Regions from separate parts of the Homo sapiens genome. Here regions 1 and 3 are each linked to region 2. The links are contacts of gene promoters, found by promoter capture Hi-C in human tissues and cell types (Jung and others, 2019). All regions are on one chromosome and are shown on one strand. The core of a region is centred on a gene start or on the middle of the fragment in contact, and the rest is flanking DNA. Distances in the headings are between cores, read along the strand shown. Region 1 has its middle 89 kb from the start of JPH2. Region 2 holds the start of FITM2 (fat storage inducing transmembrane protein 2). Region 3 overlaps LINC01620 (long intergenic non-protein coding RNA 1620).

Region 1 (2,700 bases), core at 41-2,540, 210 kb before region 2:
TTCCTGGGCTCCCTGAGGGAGTCTGCTCAGTGGATGCTTTTGAATTATCTATACCAGGGACTGGCAAACCTTTTCTGTAAGGGACAGAAAGGAAATATTTTAGGCTTTGCGGGCCACATGGTATCTATCACAACTATTCTGTTACCAGATGGAGGGCCTTGAGTGTGAGTTGTCCGGGTCCTCAGTGTTTTGAACAAAGAATTGGACAAAACACACAAAGTGACAAACGAATGAAACAAAGCAACAAAGCAGTGAAAGCAGGGAATGATATTTTATTTTATTCATTTATTTATTTTTGAGACAGAGTCTCACTCTGTCGCCCAGGCTGGAGTGCAGTGGTGTGATCTTGGCTCACTGCAACCTCTGCCTCCTGGGCTCACGCCATTCTCCGAAAGCGAGATTTATTAAAGTGGAAAGCGCTCCACAGGTGGGAGTGGGCCCAAGCAAGCAGCTCACGGGCCTGGTTACGAAGTTTTCTGGGTTTTAACGACTCCTTTTGAGGGCCCTATCGGCTACAAAAATGAGTACCAAACTCATGTCTTGCTTTATAGAAAATAAAGGATCATCTAGGCTTTGGATCCTGGAGATTTGGGGAACAGGACAGGAGCCGGATGTCAGGTCCACAACTACGCCAAATGTCCTGCTTGGGGTCAGGTTCGGGCCCATACTGAGGTCCAAGGGGAGTGGGCGGATGGGCAGATAGGTGAAAAACACTGGGCGGGTGCCATAGGCAGGTGAAATGTAGTTTTATTCAGCAGCTCTCTCATCAACAGCTCTTACACACTCTTCTCTCATCAGTAGTTTTCTCACACCGTCCGCCCTGTTTTAGCTGCTTGAGTGGGCTGCTCCCATACACCGCTGTGCTGCCGGCTCTCCCTTGCCTTCAGGGTCAGCAGCTTAACTCTTTCTCTGGGCACAAGCTGGTTCCGGGCTCCCCACTGCCCACCTGCAAGACGGACAGCTTTGGCTCTCTCTTCCTCTGGGCACCAGCGCACCCAACCACGTCAAGCCATGCCCAAGAGCCAAGCCCAGCCATGTCCCCAGAGCCCCGTGCAGTGTCAGCAGGGCAGTCATACCTTTTACAGACAATAGTGGCGTAGAGCCAAGTATGAACTTACACAAACAGTTATATAACAAGTGGAGGTGTGAGCCTGCACCCCAACCCTGCTGAGTCATGCAGGCCTGGATGTCTGCCTCGGCCTATTCCTTGACCAAAGCACATCCATGTGAAGGAAATAATGTATACAGTGGTCCATTTCCAAGATAAAGTGCCTTGAATTGGCTTAGGTCAGCAAACTACAGAAGAAACAAGATATACTAGGCCCCTGCTTGGATAGCCGATGCCTGCTTGTCGGCCTCTCCCTTCTCCCCTTCCTCCCTTGCTTAGTTGCCCTCACTCAAACCAAAGACATTTAGTCTAAAATGAAAGTTTACTAGCCTGCAAAATAGCTCACTTTGTCAGTTCTTATCGGCCTGCCCAGCTACTTAGGTCATTAGGTCATAAGACAAATGCTTAAAAAGCCCCTGAGCTAACTAGGATTGCAATACATTGTGGGCTGCAACAAAATGCCACAAGACAACCCTAAAAAAGAACACCTAAAGCCCCTACCCACCATCACTAGGCAAAGTCCGGGAAGAGTGTGACCCCACAGTACTCAGCCTTTGAGGAACCGGTGGAGAGACCTGTGCACTAGAGGATGAATTGCTTGTTGTGACTGCGCTGGGTGTGCCTGCTCATTAGACACCCAGTCTTGCAAGACCGTCATTAAAAGTCTCACTTTCACTATTCTCTGGGTCTCTAAGTCCATTCTTGAGTTCGAACGCATGAATTTGTTCCTCACACATGTACCTTACACTGGATAGGGCTGATTAAAAACAAAATCAAATACACCTTCTAAGCTTCACTTTCCTGCTAGCTCTAGAGTTGGAGTTACTCCATCAAGATTGTGGAAGAGAGTGTGGTAGGAAGAATAATGGCACCGCTGAAGATGTCCATTCTTTATCTGGATGAAGGATTTGGCCCATGGCTAATTAAAGCTGAAGTGAATTGGTCCGCAGTCATCTGGAGACGGAGTGGATCGGCACCCTACGCAGATGGGGGGATGGCTAGCACTTGGCCCACAGCCAATCCAAGGCACTTTCCTTTCCATCTGAGACATGGTGGAAGGTTGTATGGAGAGTAACCTTTGATTCTTTGTTATCCCAGCATGGCAAGATGGAGTTTTTCCTTTTGGCTTAGCTTTTGGAAGTGGGTGTTAATTGGTCTTAGAGTCCCTGCCCCCAGACCCAAGTGTTTCCCTTTTGATCCAGCCTTAGGAAGTCAGCACACATTGGCCTTAAGTTGCCTGGTCCAAACCCTATTCTCCTGCCTCAGTTCAATCTGTCAATATGAAGGTTGAAAATACATCATTAAATGAGCATAGCTGTGGGCCAATAGAACTTTATTCATAACACTGAAATGTGAATTTTACATGATTTTTCACATCATGAACTAGTCTTCCTTTGTTTCCCACCCTAACCATTTAAAACAGTAAAAACCAGCTGGGCATGGTGGCTCATGCCTTTAACCCCAGTACTTTGGGAGGCCAAGGTGGGCGGATCACTTGAGGCCAGGAGTTCGAGACCAGCCTGGCCAACATGGTGAAACCCTGTCTTTACTAAAAATACAAAAATTATCTGGGCATGATGACTCATGCCTGT
Region 2 (2,700 bases), core at 118-2,617:
TCCGCCTCCCCAGCGTTCACGAAAGGTGGCTGACCTAAACCCAGGACAGAGACTTGGGGCCACTACCACTCTCATGATCTATTCTTAGCCCAGCCTCTCAGGGTGGGTGAGGAAGGAAGGTGGACCAAGGACAGAAGGACTTTTTTCTAGGTTCCAATGGATTCTCAGGCACCACCCCCAGGCCTGTCACTAAAATCTTCACTGGGACTGATAAGGAAGATCTTGCCAGAGCCAAGACCCGTCAGGCATTTGAGGAAGCTGCCTGTGAAAGGAACCAGGGTTTTAAGCAGATAACCAAAGTTGGGCTGACTTTCAGGACACGCCAGAGACACTTATTCTGGAAAACACTTAGGCTCACATCAAGGGAGCAGTTTTATCTTTCAGAGTTTCCCTTTATGACCGCAACAGAGTTTTTGTGCAATAAACTTACTAACCGGGAGTTTTGAAAAAAGCAAGTAAGCAAGCAAAGGAGTGGATGGGTGGAGTTAAGGAGATGTCTCAAAGCGCCCAGCTGGGATTGCTTTTCTGGGCCACTGCCATGCATTCTGAGTGGCTGAGATGATCCAAGGAGATCCAGGGGAAAGGGCACAGACTAGGGGGTTCCAGCCCTCTGTGAGTATCTCACAGGCGGGGGCTCTGCCTGTCACAGGCTGGGGCGAGGCTCTTCCACAGGTCGTAAAGGGATTCTGTCACGCGCTGGAGGGATCTGATCTGACGCAGGGTGGGGTCTGCGCGGGGTCTGCCACAGGCAGGCAGGACAGAGGTGAGATGGCATCTCCCAAACAGGGCAGGGGTCAGCTCCTAACTCCAAGGGGAGGCGGGGGAGTGGTGACAGGGGCTGGTTCATCCCCACCCCATTCCACACCCCTACATATACAGAGACACACACGACCCCGCTTGTCACCACCTGCCCAGTCAAGCTCATGCTGCCCAAAGTGGGTCTGCAAACACTAACTGCTAGTGACACCAGCTACCCCGGGGCCTCCCAGGCGTGACACGCGTGCAGATGCTGCTGTCACGGCTAGGAGGAGGACCTCCCCTCCAATGACTCGTCCACCACGGCAGCTAGCACCGGCTTCTCTGGGCGAGGCGACAGCGGGCCGGCTCGGGCGGGGACAGCGGAGGACCGGGGTGCACTCACACGTTGAGGACGTTGCGCTTGTTGCTGAGGTAGCTCTCGGGCAACGGGGACAACTCCTTGAGGAGGGAGCCCGCCAGCATGGAGGCCACCAGGGCCCAGGGCAGGTAGCGCCGCACGGCCGCCCGCACCAGCGTCCCCCGCAACAACCACTCGCAGCGCTCCAGATGCTCCATGCCGGATCTCGTCAGCCACCGTCCTCCTCTCCGTGCCCTCTCGGCCACCGTATCGCCCTTCGCCCGGACCTGCGCCTCCACCTCCCTTCGAGCGCATGCGCACTGCCCGCGAGTCCCACAGCTTGAGGCGTGCTTGGGCTCCGGAGCCCGCGCGCTCCCCCTCGTGGCCGCTGCTGCCTCTGGCGCGTGACGGTCCCCGAACTCGCTCGTCTCCTCTGCGCTCTCCTGGCCGCCTCCTCTCCCCGAGCCTCCGCGTCTTGCTCTGGTCTGGGAAAAAGCGCTTGTGAAAGTATTTGCTGGAGGCTGGAAGAGGATAAATGTAGCCCTGGAGAATTGGAGCAGTAGTCACAGCATCATTTGATCTTTCTTGGAGCCTCGGAGACACCTCTGCCATCTGAGTCTTAGTTTTCTCATCTGTAAAATGCGAGAGACAAGAGGAGATCAACCTTTCCCAAAAGCTAGTTTATGAGCTCAGGGGTTCATTACGTTGGCACACGTAGAGGGACATGAGATGAAGTTTCCTTAGGAATAATTATTGTATTTATTTATTTATTAGTTAGTTGGGGGGGGGTCCCTCTCTGTCGCCCAGGCTGGAGTGCAATGGCACCGTCGCAGCTCACCGCAACCTCAAATTTCTGGTCTCAAGCAATACTCCCACCTCAGCCTCCCGAGTAGCTGGGACCACAGGCGGGCACCACCACACCTGGCTAATTTTTTTTATTTTTATTTCTGTAGAGACAGGGTTTTGCTTCGTTGTCGAGGCTGGTCTCAAACTCCTGGGCTCAAGCGATCCTCCTGCCTCGGCTTCCTAAAATGCTGCAATTACAAGTGTGAGCCACCACGCTCTGCAGTTATTAAATTAATTAATTAATATAATTAATTTATTTAGAGACATAGTCTCGCTCTGTTGCCCAGGCTGGAATGCAGTGGCGCGATCTCAGCTCACTGCAGGCCTCTGCCTCCCAGGTTCAAGCGATTCTCCTGCCTCAGCCTCCCGAGTAGCTGGGATTACAGGCACGCACCACCACACCCAGCTAATTTTTGTATTTTTAGTAGAGATGGGGTTTCACCATGTCGGCCAGGCTGACCAACTCCTGTCCTCAAGTGATCTGACCTCTCCAAATCTTAACCTCAAGTGATCTGCCAGCCTTCACCTCCCAAAGTGCTGAGATTACAGGAGTGAGCCATCTCACCTGGTGCAATTATTACATTTAAAGTTTAAATTTCTAAATTTATTTTCACCTGGGCAACACAGTGAGACTCAGTATCTATAAGAAATAATTTTAAAAACTAGCTGACTTGGTGGCTCAGGCCTGTGGTCCCAGCTACTCAGGAGGCTGAGGTGGGAGGATTGCTTGAGCCCAGGAATTTGAGGTTGCAGTGAGC
Region 3 (2,700 bases), core at 95-2,594, 150 kb after region 2:
AGGGGCATGACCAAGTCATCCAGTGGGACAGGTCCTGGATGAATCCAGTTTCCGACTCAAGAGTCAATAGAACCTCAGTTACTGAGCACTCATCTGTACTAACTGATGAGGTGAGTATTGTTATTCCTTCCTAAGGCACAGCCAGGAACAGTGGTTCATGCCTATTAATCTCAGAATTTTGGGAGGCCGAGATAGGAGGATTGCTTGTGGCCAGGAGTTCAAGACCAGCCTGGGCAACATAGTAAAACCTCCATCTCTACCAAAAAAGATTTTTCGAATTAGCTGGGCTCGGTGATGCCTGCCTGTAGTCCTAGCTGCTCAGGAGGTTGAGGCAAGAGGAACACTTGAGCCCAGGAGCTCAAGGCTGCAGTGAGCTATGATCAGGCCACTGCACTTCAGCCTGGGCAACAGATCAAGACCATGTATCTTATAAAAAAAAACAAAAAACGGTGGGGGGAGCCGGGCGCGGTAGCTCACACCTATAATCCCAGCACTTTGGGAGGCCTAGGCGGGCAGATCACCTGAGGTCAGGAGTTAGAGACCAGCCTGACAAACATGGAGAAACCCCATTTCTACTAAAAATACAAAATTAGCTGGGCATAGTGGTGCATGCCTATAATCCCAGCTACTCAGGAAGCTGAGGCAGGAGAATCGCTTGAACCCGGGAGGCAGAGTTTGCGGTGAGCCGAGATCGCACCATTGCATTCCTGCCTGGGCAACAAGAGTGAAACTCCGTCTCAAAAACAAAACAAGACAAAACAAAACAAAAGGACCTAAGGCACAGAGAGTTTGAGTGACTTGCCTAAGGTCACACAGCTAAGAAGCAGCCAAGCCTCAGGGCTTTTGTCTACTCTGAATGGCTATTCTCCACCACCCACCCCACCTTGCTGCCAACTCTCTGCTCGGACCCCAGCACGGTCTATGAATTCAAACCCTAACCCTTTCTAGAGCTTTGGGCAAAGCCAGGAAATTCCATGAAACCCCTTCAAGGCCTGGGTTCCAGTTCCCCCAACTCCAAACCAAAAGAGAGCAAAACTAGCCCTCCTTGCAAGGTGGCTGTGAGAAAACAGTGATAAAAATTAATTATAGGACTTGTATGTAATAAAAATAATTGCAGGGCTCCTGGCAAACAGCCCAGCTCTAGAGATACGGACTGATGATAGCAGGCATTTATGGCCCTGCGGCCCAGCCTTTCTGAGGCTGGGGTGATAGGAGCCGGGTCACGAGGTGGGGGTGGTCACAGGCAGGAAACTCCCAGCAGCAAGGCCTGGGCCTGTCTCTGATGCAGCCTGCACATTGGTTTCAGGGACGCTTGGAAGGACACTCCCCTAGCCTCGGGGGGTCACCATTAGTTATCCATCTGGTTGGGTCTGATGTTGCTTGCTGTTTGCCTTTCTAAAAACCTACAAACAAGGCCAGGTGTGGTGGCTCACACCTGCAATCCCAGCACTTTGGGAGGCCAAGGTGGGTGGATCGCTTGAGGTCAAGGGTTCAAGACCAGCCTGGCCGACATGGTGAAACCCCATCTCTACTAAAAATACAAAAATTAGCTGGGCATGGTGGCGGGTGCCTGTAATCCCAGCTACTCAGGAGGCTGAGGCAGGAGAATCACTTGAACCCGGGAGGCGGAGGTTGCAGTGAACCAAGATCGTGCCATTGCACTCCAGCCTGGGCCACAGAGTGAGACTCTGTCTCAAAATAAATAAATATAAAAACCTGTAAATAATGAGCACTTTACAGTGACTTCATTCATTCGTTAATTCTCAAGGCCCCAAGGATAGGCAGGGAGCAGATATTGGTGGTGGTGGAGGTGGAGCAAGGCCCAGAGGAGACAGTGGTTCATTCTTCCTCTATCCAATGGATATTTATTAAGGGCCACTCCATGCCAGGTGCCTCGCTGTTGGAAGGTAGTGACAGGGACACCAGGGACTTGCCCAGGATCACAGTGGGTGGGAGAAAGTCAGGGCTGGCCCCTGGGTCCTCAACACCAAGGACAGTAGTCTCATTGCCACAAAAAGAGACCGGAGTGGTTTGTCCCTTTGGAAAAATGACTCCCTCTTAGGATTCTAGCCTTCCCTGCAGGCATTCATAGTTAATTCTTAAAGACATCAAAAACCCATATTAGAACTCCAGTAATTTTTTTAATGAAAACGGAACCTACTTATCACAAAAGCTCAACCAATAAAGAGAAGTACAAATAAGAAAGTTCAAAATGTGGAAATTTTACTACCCAGAGAAAAATGCTCTTAGCAGAGGTAGCAGAGCTAAGTGGTCAAGAGCACAGACTCAGACCAAAGTGCCCAGGGCCACGTGCTGGCTTGCAACCTAACCATGCTAGAGTGTAGCCTCTCTGCTGCCTATTTCTTTACCTGCAAATCTGTATAATGGCAGCACCTGTCACACATAGGGTATTAAATGTTAGGAGCATGAAACAAGCTAACCATTTGTGGAGTGCTTAGCACAGCACTCAACACAGAATAAGTGCTATTTAAAGGGTTGTTCAGTGTATCCCCAGACGGGGCTCCATGCAGACATACCACACCTGCTTATGGTCTTAGGACCTGATTTTATATATGTATATACACATATATATGTATATATACGTATATATATATGTGTGTGTGTGTGTGTGTGTGTATACACACATATATACATATATGTATACACACATTTATACATATATATATACACACATATACA

Evidence for each region. The method cuts DNA at HindIII sites, captures the fragments that hold promoters and counts their contacts. A contact is called where the count stands out against the background at its distance.
Region 1: a fragment that was not itself captured here is called in contact with the fragment with the promoter of FITM2 in region 2 in 1 of the 25 tissues and cell types used here (aorta).
Region 3: a fragment that was not itself captured here is called in contact with the fragment with the promoter of FITM2 in region 2 in 4 of the 25 tissues and cell types used here (dorsolateral prefrontal cortex, liver, mesendoderm cells and 1 more).

Annotation. Positions count from the first base shown.
Region 1 is chr20:44,096,753-44,099,452 of GRCh38, forward strand. No RefSeq gene overlaps it. Among named protein-coding and RNA genes, the nearest start is that of JPH2, 89 kb to the right of the region's middle. The HindIII fragment of the contact is 5,022 bases long and covers 1-2,700 here.
Region 2 is chr20:44,309,835-44,312,534 of GRCh38, forward strand. FITM2 (fat storage inducing transmembrane protein 2) reads right to left here and starts at 1,368. Exons shown (of 2, transcript NM_001080472.4): 1 at 1,142-1,368. The coding sequence starts at 1,314. RefSeq lists enhancers at 215-944, 891-980, 945-1,674, 1,271-1,420. The HindIII fragment of the contact is 18,619 bases long and covers 1-2,700 here.
Region 3 is chr20:44,456,001-44,458,700 of GRCh38, forward strand. All of the region lies in intron 2 of LINC01620 (long intergenic non-protein coding RNA 1620), which reads right to left. Among named protein-coding and RNA genes, the nearest start is that of LINC01430, 6.8 kb to the left of the region's middle. The HindIII fragment of the contact is 8,304 bases long and covers 1-2,700 here.